Linked DNA regions of Homo sapiens: all the other regions are linked to region 1. Evidence: promoter capture Hi-C in 16 types of primary human blood cells and fetal thymus (Javierre and others, 2016). All regions are on one chromosome and are shown on one strand. Each heading gives the region's core, a stretch centred on a gene start or on the middle of the fragment in contact. The rest is flanking DNA. Distances are from core to core; before and after follow the strand shown.

Region 1 (4,034 bases), core at 1,317-3,816:
TCAGCTGGGCCTCAGAATCGTAAAAATTAAAGATTAAATAAAAATTTTCAAATTAAAAAATGTCCAATAAAGGTTATTGAGATCTGAGATATTTAAAAATATTTGATAATTCATTTAAAATAAACAATAAACCCATTACATATTGCATTAGTTTCCTGAGGATCCCGTCACAAATTACTACAAATGTGATGGCTTGAAACAACAGAAATTTTTTCTCTCAGAGCTGGAGAGTCAAGAAGTCTGCAAGTAAGGTATTGCCAAGGTTGATACCTTCTGGAAGCTCTGAAGGAGAAGGTGTTCCAAGCCATTCTCCTAGTTTCCCATAGCGATGGGCAATCCTTGGTGTTCCTTGACTTGTGAACATATCATTCATTCCAATCTGTATCTTTGTCTTCAGTATGCCATTCCCCTCCCCCAACCCTGCCCCTGTATCTTTGTGTCTGTGCATCTCAAATCTTCCCTCCTCTTATAAGGTGTGTTAGTCCATGTTCATACTGCTATGAAGAAATACCCAAGACAGGGTAATTTACAAAGAATAAGTTAAATGAATTGATAGTTCCACATGGCTGGGGAGGCCTCACAATCATGGTGGAGGGTGAAGGCACAGCAAAAGCACGTCTTACATGGCAGCAGGCAAGAGAGCGTGTTCAGGGGAACTGCCCTTTATAAAACCATGAGATCTCATGTAGCTAACTACCTGTTATAAAACATGAACAATGTTTATAAACATGAATAATGCATTATACGTGCATTATATGTTTATAAACACAAATAATGCATTATAAACACAATACTGCTTTATGGGAAACATAAATGAATGGGAAGAACCCGCCCCCATGATTCAGTTACCTCCCACCAGGTCCCTCCCATGACACATGGGGATTATGGGAACTACAATAAAACCATCAGATCTCATGAGACTTATTCACTATCACCAGAACAGCATGGGAAAAATCTGCCTCCATGATTCAATTACCTCCCACCGGGTCCCTTCCGTGACATGTGGGGATTATGGGAACTACAATTCAAGATGATATTTGGGTGGAGACACAGCCAAACCATACCATAAGGATAACAGTCTTTAGATTTAGGGCCCACCCTAAGTCCCAGGATGACCTCATCTTGAGGGCCTTAACTTAATTACATCTGCAAAAGCCCTATTTCCAAATAAAATCATATTCACAGGGGTGGAGGGGTTGAAACTTGGACATGTATTTTTTAGGGGGACACAATTCAACTCACTGCACACATTTACATAAATAACACATCTTTTAATAAAAATATTTTCGAAATAAAAATTTAGCAAGAAGAGTGACCTTATTTTTGTAAATCTTTCATATCTAGATTTAAGGAAGAAGCTGGGTGCTCATTTCCTTTGATATTCAATCTGTTATGCTGTTTTGGTTGAAATATATAATGAAAATCCAGCTTCATACAGATCATTACATACCCTCTGAAAGGGTTTCAGGAGGCTTCTGGGGACTTCAGAGCAACACTTGAGAACCACTGCTCTAAAGCATATACTCCATAAATATATGTAAAATGGAATTTCCAGGCTGTGGCTACATATTCCAGGCTATATATATATATATATATATACATATATACACACACACACACACACACTGTATATAGGTGTGTGTGTTCTGTGTGTGTATACATATATTCTACTTTATTAGATAATGGCACATTGTTTTCCAACTTGATTAACCAATTTACTTTTTCACTAGCAGTGTATAAGAGGTTTTGTGGCTCTATAAGTCGACCAATATCTGTTATTGTTACACTTAAAATTTTTGCCTATCTTGTGGTATGTAATGTATTGATTGCACTGTGACGTTTAATTTAACAAAAGTTCATCTAGTGCTTGCTATGTACCAACCACTTCTAGGTACTTTTTCCAAATATTGGTACTTTGTAATAATTCTCTATGGTAGGTGCTATTATCTCCATTCTACAGATACACACTGAGGCAGAGAATTTAAGCAAGTGGCCGGACGTCACACAGCCAGTACGTGGCAAAGCAGGGATTAAGCACTCCTGCAGTCTGCTCTTAGAATTCGCGCTCCTTGCCCAGCTGCTTCCCCCAAATATTTATTATTACTTATGAGAAAACTCCGCAAATTGCAAAGCGCTCTACCACCAACGATTAGCACCCTAGGGCAAAATGAGCCCTTTACCACTCCCTAGATGCTCCCCAGCGCTAAGTTCCCAGCGGAGGTTGCAGTGAGCGCAGATCGCGCCACTGCACTCCAGCCTGGGTGACAGGGCGAGACTCTTGTCTCAAAAAAAAAAAAAAAAAAACAACAAAAAAAGCCAGTGATTGGAGCGTAATTACCCTCGCCAACCGCCTGTAACCACGGCGGCCGCCACGCCCCGTTTCCTGGTCTCGCCCCTCTCCGCCCACGACTCTGGCCCCGCCCCTCGTCCCAGGCTGCAACGGAGGCAGAGCCAACGCCTCGCGGGCTTCCACGTACGCACTCCAACGCGTGTTCCCGGAGAAGAACGCATCCGGGTCACGGGAGCCGGTGTCTCAGGCTCCGCCCCTTCACCCCCCGAAAGGCTAATCCCCACTTCCGACCCTCTCAGGCCTTTTCCGCTTCTCTTTTACCTCCCCAGGTCCGCCCGTCTGCGCCCCTCACAGGAAGCCGGAGGGTCGCTCTGATCCCGAATCTCCCACAGGCGTGAACCTGCTCTGCTGTGTATCTTTGCGGGGTGGCCTGCGCTGAGGCCTGCCGCGCGCGGTGAGTCCGCGCAGACCTGACCCTGCGTCTCGCAGCTCGGTTGAGGCCGCCGCCGCCTTCTCGGGATGCCGCGGCCGGGGTCCGCGCAGCGCTGGGCGGCCGTCGCGGGCCGTTGGGGGTGCAGGCTGCTCGCACTGCTGCTACTGGTGCCTGGACCCGGCGGCGCCTCTGAGATCACCTTCGAGCTTCCTGACAACGCCAAGCAGTGCTTCTACGAGGACATCGCTCAGGGCACCAAGTGCACCCTGGAGTTCCAGGTATCAGGGGCCTAGCAGTCCCTGGGCCCCAACTCGCGGCTCCAGGATTGGGGGTGTAACTTGAGGGATGGCACTTTCCTGTCCGTGTTTCCCCGTTCTTAGGCTAATTCAAAAATCGCTTCTAGGTAGCTGATGCCCAGCATTTGACTTTCCTCTAATAAACCTTGGGTGAGAGATGTTAAGACCGGGTGTTAAAATATATGAATTCCAGAAATGCTCCCTTTAGCATTTCTTTCCATCTCATTTTTAAGGCCTATTGAACTTTCTTCCTTAAAAGATTCCCTTAAAGAAAATCATTTATACTCTGTAGTACCCAGTGTCAACCCTCTACTCTCTAATCCACACCTCCAATTTAATTGGATTTGGAGTGCTGCCAATGTCTAACTTCATTGCTTTTCAGTTTTACCAATATTAGGACTGTTGGTTAATACGGTCCTTGTCATTGGAAGAGCTCCATTACAGGTTGAACGGCCATTTGCCAAGGGAGTTGTAGAAAGAATTGCTGTGATAAATGAGAGGCCCCTTCTGATATTTGGGATTATATAAAAAAGAAACTTTAACAGAATGTGGTTTATTCGGTTGGTTAGAACAGTCTTTACTGAGCTTCAATTTTGGTTGGTAGGCGCATTTAACATTTGAGTAGCTATTGAATACTAGGTGCCAGTGGTACAGAAGTGGTCGAAACAGATAGGGTCACTGCCATCATTCATGATTCCCCTCTCACCCTGCTTTTCTTAACTGGTATCTGCTCATTCATCAGAACTGTGCCTTAAGAGCAGTAAGTAGGATCCATGAAGGAAGACTTCCTTTGGAAAATTATTTTAAGCTGAACTTTAAAGGATGAGCTATAAACACCTTGGTAAGGGAGGAGGGGGAATAGCCTGTGGTAGTAGTGAACACTGAGAATTTCAGGGCCATAGAGAGAGGTCCAATATGGTTGGGAATAAGGAGCCAGAGCAAGGGGGTCAGCAGGGGCAGGCCAGATAGTGTCTTGCTGACCATGTTAAGGATTTGTTTTTCCTGAAAGTGTAGG
Region 2 (3,983 bases), core at 471-2,970, 3.4 Mb before region 1:
GTGGAGAGTGCTCTGGAGAACAAAATGGGCTGGAGTTTTTAAAGAAAAGAGAACGAATCAGCAGAGGGGGGCATTACAAAAGCTATGTCTCAGGAAGTGTCATTTATTTACAGAAATAACATTGGTTAGTGATTGGCTATACATATTGTTGAACTATAGGGTATACGGCGTTTTATGGCTACTCGGTGTCAGTCTAGGGCCTGCATAGCAAGTGCCTTCAAGAGGTAATTATTTAGCTCAAGGGAGAGTGAGACATGACTGCTCGCATTCCTTAGATAAAAAGTTTTTTTTTTTTTCCTTATCATCTGTCTTCTCACACCACACAATTGGGAGTCTCAAGGGACCTTAGAGGACTTGAGCACATTTCACCTCTTGAAATTAAAGATGAGCAGCTTCCTTTCGTTTAAAGATAAGTCACATGAGAATTTAATTTTGGCAGTTAAAGAATTGGTTCCCCAACCTAAATCTACAGACAAGATGAATTTTCTGATTCATCTCCTTTCCTACAGTTTCTGGATTTTGTTTATCCTCCGATTCCAAATGGCATAATTGCTAGTTCTTTCTCCCACTCTACGTCCATCACCAGGTGGGTGTTTCAGCCTTTTTCTATCCCTCACATAGGACGCTCCAAAGGAAAAGAGAGGTGCTGTTTCCGGGGGGAAAGAACGTAGGATAGTTGAAAACAGCACGGTATTTTATTCACAAACTTGATTTTAAGATGACTGAAAAATCTAATGTGAAATAAACATTTTAAGAAATACAGTATTTGCTCTATTACTGTGTTGTCTACTTTGCCTCACATTTAATCTATTACAACTATAGAGTTAAGACAACTGTGATTCCTAAGCTTAATTCACATGATTGATCAAAACCAAGCTTAATTCTGTTTTAATGTTGTGTATTGCTGGAAGTAACACAAAGCATTAATAAACAAAAGGAATTCGATACCCATTTTGGGTAAATAGTATTTCTGCCTTCATTCTAACATAGATTTCATTTTGGCTTTTAAAAAACAGCTGCTGTGCTATATACCGCCGTATCCAGTAGTTGTTAAATACCTGGGCAACGTTACCTTTCTAGGGCTTGTTTCCTCATACATAAAACCTATTGGTACCCCGGGCCAGCTCTCCTATTGCTTCCTGATCGGGGACGATCTAAAAATCTAATTTAACAAATATCTGGTGTCCAGTGTAAAATAGCATGCTTGATGTCTTATTAGCACAAGACATAGAAGAGCAGGAAATTCACATAAGGAAACGGACCAGCTGTGAGTAGTTCCCAGTGGATATAACCTCTCCTTTGTTGGCCTTTAAATAATAAGTGCATCAGCTGCCGCACCTGCGATGCATGCACGCGTGGAAATCCTGCAAATTCTTAAACTGCCATCCCAAGGCGGAAAATGCAGAATTCCATTTTATTTTAACTTTTAAAGGAGTTAAATTCGGGCTTGGTACTGGGGTCCTCTCGGGGAGGTTTCCCTTACCTCTCCCAATGACGCTACTTAACCTCACCAGCACTCCAACACTGCCCACACTTGCCTACCCAGTTCTAGGTGAACGGTCCCACTGGGCACGGACCAATGGGCTCGTTCCTTCCCAGCGGCAGGGTGGGACCTCCAGCCTGGGCTTCGGAGACCCGCCCCCCGTACGTGGCGTGCGGGCATTGCGCTACGCGGCGCGGGCCGGTTTCTACAGCGCGTGGCGCCCCCCGGCGGCAGCCGGGCTTCAATGCCACGGCCTGACCGGAGTGTCCGCCATGGAGTCGCAGAAAGAGGCACGAACACTCCAGGAGCCCGTTGCGCGGCCTTCTGGGGCCTCAAGCTCTCAGACGCCGAACGACAAGGAGCGGCGGGAGGGCGGCGCAGTGCCGGCGGCGGCTGCCCTGGGCGCAGAGGCGGACGACGACAGTGCGGACGGGCTGTGGGAGCTGCCGGTGGAGCCGGCCGAGCGGAGGCCTGAGTGCACCCGCTGCAGGTGACCGCGGGGCTGGGGGCGGGGACTGCAGCCGGCAGCGGCCTTCGGAGGAGGGTGCGGCGCCCCCTGCCGGGGAGTCGGCGGCTCGGGCAGCTCTGCGATTAGGGCGGCGGAGTTGGCGGGTGCACGTTGGAAATCTCGGAAATGCCAGGCACAGCTACCTAGTAAGAAGCCCTTTTTCCAGGTTCATGATTATCTAACCTTACTTCCTGCAATATGCTGAGCGTATCATGGGATGAGCAGACATCAGTTCTGTTTCCAAGAAACTTAAGCGTCCAATAGGGGAAGTAAGGGGTGATGACAGTAATACTTGTAAAATAGTTACACAGTCATATTTAAGTGGCATAGTTATATCACAGTTAAAAAGCATAAAGTGGATTGGAGGAGAGAGACAGTCTCCTTTACCTATCCTACCAGAACTCTAAATATAGGGCCTTTTCAGGTGTTCATTCTAGGTTCTCTTCAAACCCTACATACGTCCCACTGGTAATTTATAAAATCAGTTTTCATGGTAAATTATCATCTATATCCCAGTGTGTCTAGCTCAGACCTTTCTTCGGAACACCAGACCTGTGCATTAATTTATCAGGTGTTTATTGAGTGCTTTGGTAATCACTGACAATGCAGTGGAGTTCATGTTTTTGTAGAGTATTCTCTTACTGGATACGGATAATAAACCAGCAAACAAGCAATCAAATATGTAATTACAAACTGGGAAAAAAGCAGTGAAGGAAAGGAATGGGTTGCTACTGTAGAAAATAGCTCAATGGTGTCATGAACTATCTCTGAGATTTGAAAGATGAGAAGAATCCAGCCAGGGGAAAAGCATTCCAAGAAGGGGAACAGAAGGACTGAATATGGTTGAAGATCTTTACTGCTTGAATACTTGGAGTATCACACTTTGGACATTTTGACCTTTTCCTAGGGCTGGATTGTAAGACTTCAGAGGAAAGGATCTTGAATGTAGAATGTTTTTATATTTTCTAAATGTACTATGTATAGTTGACGCTCAGTAAACCTCTGAGGAGGATGGAAAATTTGTGATTAGAAGGGACTGTGAATTTGAACATAGGGGTTTGTGAATACAATTAATTTAAACAAGTCGTCTGAGGGGGTTGGGGAAGCATTTAAAAATGTTTGGAGGGGTCTCAATAGGATACTGGAGGAAAAGTGTTTCAAATATAAATCAAAGGCTAAATTACTGTGCTAGTTTTATTTAGTTTTTAGTCTGTTCAGAATTGTTAATTATAAATATATAGGTAAAAATCTGTTTAGCAGAGATTTATTTTATGATGCTTTTTTAAAAAAATGGCTTGCTGAATTTAATCTTTTTTTCAGTTACGTTTAGTTAATACCTTAGGATTACAATTTTCCCCAACATTTCTGCACTTTGCTTATTTCTGGTGAAATTTGCTACCTGTGAAAAGCTCTCCTCCCTCTTGCTATGCATTTTATTTGCTTTAATTAGGTAGACTATAATTCTACACTTTGCTTATTTCTTGTGAAATTTGCTACCTGTGAAAAGCTCTCCTCCCTCTTGCTATGCATTTTATTTGCTTTAACTAGGTAGAATATAATTCTAGAATTATGGAGAATATTTAGGTGTTGTCAATAAAATATAAATGAATTGATGGCTTTTTATATTTTATTTCATTATGCTATTAGAGTTCTACTAGTACCCTGGGTGAACTTCTTTACATTTATGGTTAAAATAGTTTTAAAAATGCATTCTTAGATTTGATTGATCATTGAGTCACAGTTATTTGGCTATTTACTTAAACTGTATTCATTTCTCTGAACACATTACTACAAATGTCACAGCCTAGGGGAGTTCCAGAAATTAGCTTTGTTCAGGAAGTGCAAACTCAGTTTAACTTTTCAGCAGAATCTTGCTCATTATAAATATAACATATCTTAAATATGAATGGAATATTCTTTAAAAGATCCCAAACTTGTAATTTATTATTGCAAGATATAGATTCTATAAATGTATTCTGTCCTTTATGTATG
Region 3 (3,715 bases), core at 1,216-3,715, 3.5 Mb after region 1:
CAGGCTCTGGTAATGAGCTGCCCTGTTTCTCCGTATGAGACAAGTGATAGGGGCTCACAAGACATTGTTCCATTCATTGACTACTGAAAATATAATCAGGGGATTATAAATTGCCTCCAAGTCTCCATCACTATCCTGTTTGGAAGAGTGAGGTTGAGAGCCTGGTTTGGGAATTGTTAACAAAAGTAATGACACTGATTTGGGTGAATTATGCCTAATATTCATGAATAAAATCGTTATGCATGTAAATGTCAGACTAACTTTGTATATTAAAGTTTAAATACAAACTTTATTTTGCACAGCTATTTAGAGGGAACATTTATTGAATAGCTTTTGGTATTATGAAACTTTTGAATTAACTCAGTATCTTAAATTTAAGAGCAGCTTGGTTTCTGATGTAATTAAAATACTTCATTTGGCTGTTTTCTTCTGAATCTTTCTACATTTTTCAAATATATTTTAGAGAAGAAATGGGTCTAAAGATAGCCTGATGGAAGAAAAACCTCAGACATCTACAAACAACCTGGCTGGAAAACACACAGCAAAAACAATAAAAACTATACAAGCTTCCCGCCTCAAGACAGAGACTTGATCCTGATGAAGGGTCAAGGGTAGGGGTGGGAAGGTTGTGTGCGCCACTGGTACTTTTGAAACTGTGAAATAGGTATCTTAATTCAAATCTCAGACCTGCAAGTATTTCTTCAGCATGAGAAAATACATTATCTTTTGCTTCTTTTTTTTTTTTTTTTTGAGATGTTATCACTCTGTCGCCCAGGCTGGAGTGCAGCGGCACCGTGTCAGCTCACCGCAGCCTCCACTTACTGGGTTAAGCGATTCTCCTGTCTCAGGCTCCCGAGCAGCTGGGATTACAGGCGTGCACCACAACACCCGGCTAATTCTTTTTGTATTTTTAGTAGAGACAGGGCTTTGCCATGTTGGAGGCTGGTCTCGAACTCCTGACCTCAAGTGATCCGCCTGCCTCAGCCTCCCAAAGTGCTGGGATTATAGGCCATGGTTTAACTACAGCACAGTTGTGCTGAAGGACCTTTTTGTTTTAACTGGAAGAATAAGTATTTTGTAAAAATTCACTTGATACCACATTTTCATTTCTGGAACAGGATAGCAATCATTCATTTCTATCTTGTGTCTGTGTCCACCACAACCAAGACCAGATGCATCTGATGAACATTCTGGAATTCTGAACTGCAGCTAGCCTGCTGTGCAATAGTACAAGTGGGAGGACGTCTTCCCAGGGCTGGGCTGGTTCTCAACTAGTGCCCAGATGCAAAAGGACTGAGGCATCACTTTCAGACTGCATATATTTTTATTCATATAAAGTTCTTTATAATACTTTATTTTGTGGTGTTAAGTTCCACCAGTTATTTACAAATGATGTAAAAAGCTTTAAGTGTTGTTAATTTCTAAAGTGTTCTTGCGTTTTCAGAAGTGTAAGTGGATCTCAGTTGATCTGTCACCCCAAACCTCAAATGATCCATCCACCCTGCTTGGCCATCTAATTCACCTGCTCTCCCCAGTGACTATTTTGTACCTTTCCTCTCCATAGATGACTTTGCAATCTACAGGGAAAATACTTATGCAGGACATCTTATATCTCCCCCTTACCACGTACAGTTCTCTCCACAGCTGCCAGCAGCCCTAACCTTTTTGTCTCTCCACCTGTGCTTTGGATGCTCTTCTCCCAGCCTTTTCAGGATCTTTGTCTGTCCTCCTATATTAATGTATTCAATTATTCTCTCAGCTAGATCCTTGCTACTTGGTTTTAAATTTAAGACTAAGATTAAACAAAACTATCTTTCACAACCACAAACCCCCTCCCGCCAAGCAACTAAGATTTTCCTCTCATTCTCAGCCAGTTTTCTTGCAAGCAGTATCTTTAGTCATTGCCCTCAATTCATCTAATCCCTATCTTAAGCTATCTCTAACATGGATCTTTCCCTCTACTCCACTAATATCAATCACTGTGTTACTTAATCCCAGGGAGAATTTTTAGGACATTCTTTTGCTTCTTTAATATAATCCTATTTTGCTCCTACCACTGACCATCCTTTCTGGCTTATCATGCTTTACCTTGCCATTAATTAGTGGAGTTTCTCAAACTTCAGACCCTAGGCCCTCTTCCTCTACCACCAGCAGATCTCATTTATACCCATGGCCTTAAGGTTTATTTCTGTAGTTTAGACTACTGAGTAATGTGCTACTGCAAAAAGACCATTTGGGTTTCTCAAAGGTAATTTAAAAATTCAGCTGTTTAAATGCTGCTCCCCAGCTGAATCTAGGGTCATTATGCTCATCAGTGTGCAAGCTGGACACCTAGCAGTTATGGACACCTCCACTATTACCACGTCTAGTTGGCTCTGTCATCCAACTATAAACGATCTTATTTCACTAATTTTACTAGTCCAAGCTGGTCTCTTGTCTAGACAACAATAAGCAACCTAGTTCAACTACCTTTTCTTGCAAATCTGATTTTCCACCATGGATTTATCTTGCTTTAATAAAGCCAGAGGGAGCCTGAAGTGGTCTGGCTTCTTTACCTACCTCTTCAGCCTCATTTTGTAACACTCTCACCTCCCATAATAGCCATCTTACAAGCCTCAGTAAGGACTCAGTTCTAAAACAGGGCACTGAAGAGGGAAAGCAGCCAAAACTGTCTCAAAAGTAAGTGGACTAACGGTATCTTTTTTCTAGCCCAAGCCTCTGTATATGTCATTCCCCCAGTTTTGCCTTGTGAAAAATATGACACATACCTTTAGTCTCAACTCTTTCTCAGGTTTCCCTAAGAAAATCCTATCACGGAACTCATCTCATAGTGAAGTTTTACATTTGTGATGACATTCCCTCCACTTATCTATGTTTCCAAAGGGAAGAACTGTGTTGTGCTCATCATCGTGTTCTCAGCTCCTAGTACAGTGCTTTCAATAAATTTTTTGAATACCTCTATACATTATTTGTCGTTTCCTGCAAAGCAAAGGCAGAAGATATGGCAACATTAAATGTACAATTTAGTTGGAGGAAAAATACGCATTGAGTGCAGTAAAGCACACCTGTCACTAGAAATCAGTCTAGTTCTAGCCACGATTTTTGAGTCACTGGAAGAAAGTACATTTCTCTTTGGGCCAAACACAAGCTATTTTAAGGCTATTAATTATGGTGACAGCAGTGAATACTGATCAAAAAAGAACCCCTCCTCCCTTATAACTTTTTAGAAATAGCTGTTTCTGGCAGTTAATCACTTAAAACACAAATGCCAAAGTGCATTAATATATTTATTCACATCCTCACTGTCTTAAATGTGTATTTACAGACTCCAGCAGGTAATTATGTCAGTACTCCTCAGACTCCCAGAAATTTCAAATGATCCAGGCAACTCTTGTGAAGATCAAATTTTCAAAATCCTCACCAAGGACATCCTAAGAGAAAAAATAAAGTACTCAATTCGACAGCAAATATTTTTGTATTACATTTTAATCAAGAACTTGGTAATATGCCTGCGATTTCACAAGCTTTTAAAAAACTCAATTACTACACATAAAAACAAATCTTAAAGAGATGCAGAATGCCAGTACTATGCGTATTTATTTCCCTGGGCTTCTCAGGAAGTATCAGCAAAACCTTCCCAAAAATAAGCTGTGGAGGCTATCCCATTTATTAACTCACCTTAATAGCTACAGACAGAGCAACACTACGAATGTAC

The links. Contacts are between HindIII fragments. The CHiCAGO score rates a contact against its expected background, and 5 or more counts as called.
Region 2: the fragment with the promoter of DTWD2 here is called in contact with the fragment with the promoter of TMED7 in region 1 in 1 of 17 cell types (total CD8 T cells); the score reaches 6.0 in total CD8 T cells.
Region 3: a contact is called between a fragment that was not itself captured here and the fragment with the promoter of TMED7 in region 1, in 1 of 17 cell types (total CD4 T cells). The highest score is 8.5, in total CD4 T cells.

Annotation. Positions count from the first base shown.
Region 1 is chr5:115,624,568-115,628,601 of GRCh38, reverse strand. TMED7 (transmembrane p24 trafficking protein 7) reads left to right here and starts at 2,566. Exons shown (of 3, transcript NM_181836.6): 1 at 2,566-3,001. The coding sequence starts at 2,810. It overlaps TMED7-TICAM2 (TMED7-TICAM2 readthrough), which reads left to right and starts at 2,566. Exons shown (of 4, transcript NM_001164469.4): 1 at 2,566-3,001. The coding sequence starts at 2,810. RefSeq lists an enhancer at 2,501-2,670 and a silencer at 2,841-2,910. The HindIII fragment of the contact is 9,571 bases long and covers 1-4,034 here.
Region 2 is chr5:118,986,284-118,990,266 of GRCh38, reverse strand. It overlaps DTWD2 (DTW motif tRNA-uridine aminocarboxypropyltransferase 2), which reads left to right and starts at 1,720. Exons shown (of 6, transcript NM_173666.4): 1 at 1,720-1,973. The coding sequence starts at 1,756. RefSeq lists a silencer at 1,807-2,136. The HindIII fragment of the contact is 4,492 bases long and covers 879-3,983 here.
Region 3 is chr5:112,161,867-112,165,581 of GRCh38, reverse strand. It overlaps EPB41L4A (erythrocyte membrane protein band 4.1 like 4A), which reads left to right. Exons shown (of 23, transcript NM_022140.5): 23 at 464-2,963. The coding sequence ends at 592. EPB41L4A-AS1 (EPB41L4A antisense RNA 1) reads right to left here. Exons shown (of 3, transcript NR_015370.2): 3 at 3,081-3,431. Among named protein-coding and RNA genes, the nearest start is that of SNORA13, 2.2 kb to the right of the region's middle. RefSeq lists an enhancer at 1-118. The HindIII fragment of the contact is 2,122 bases long and covers 1,405-3,526 here.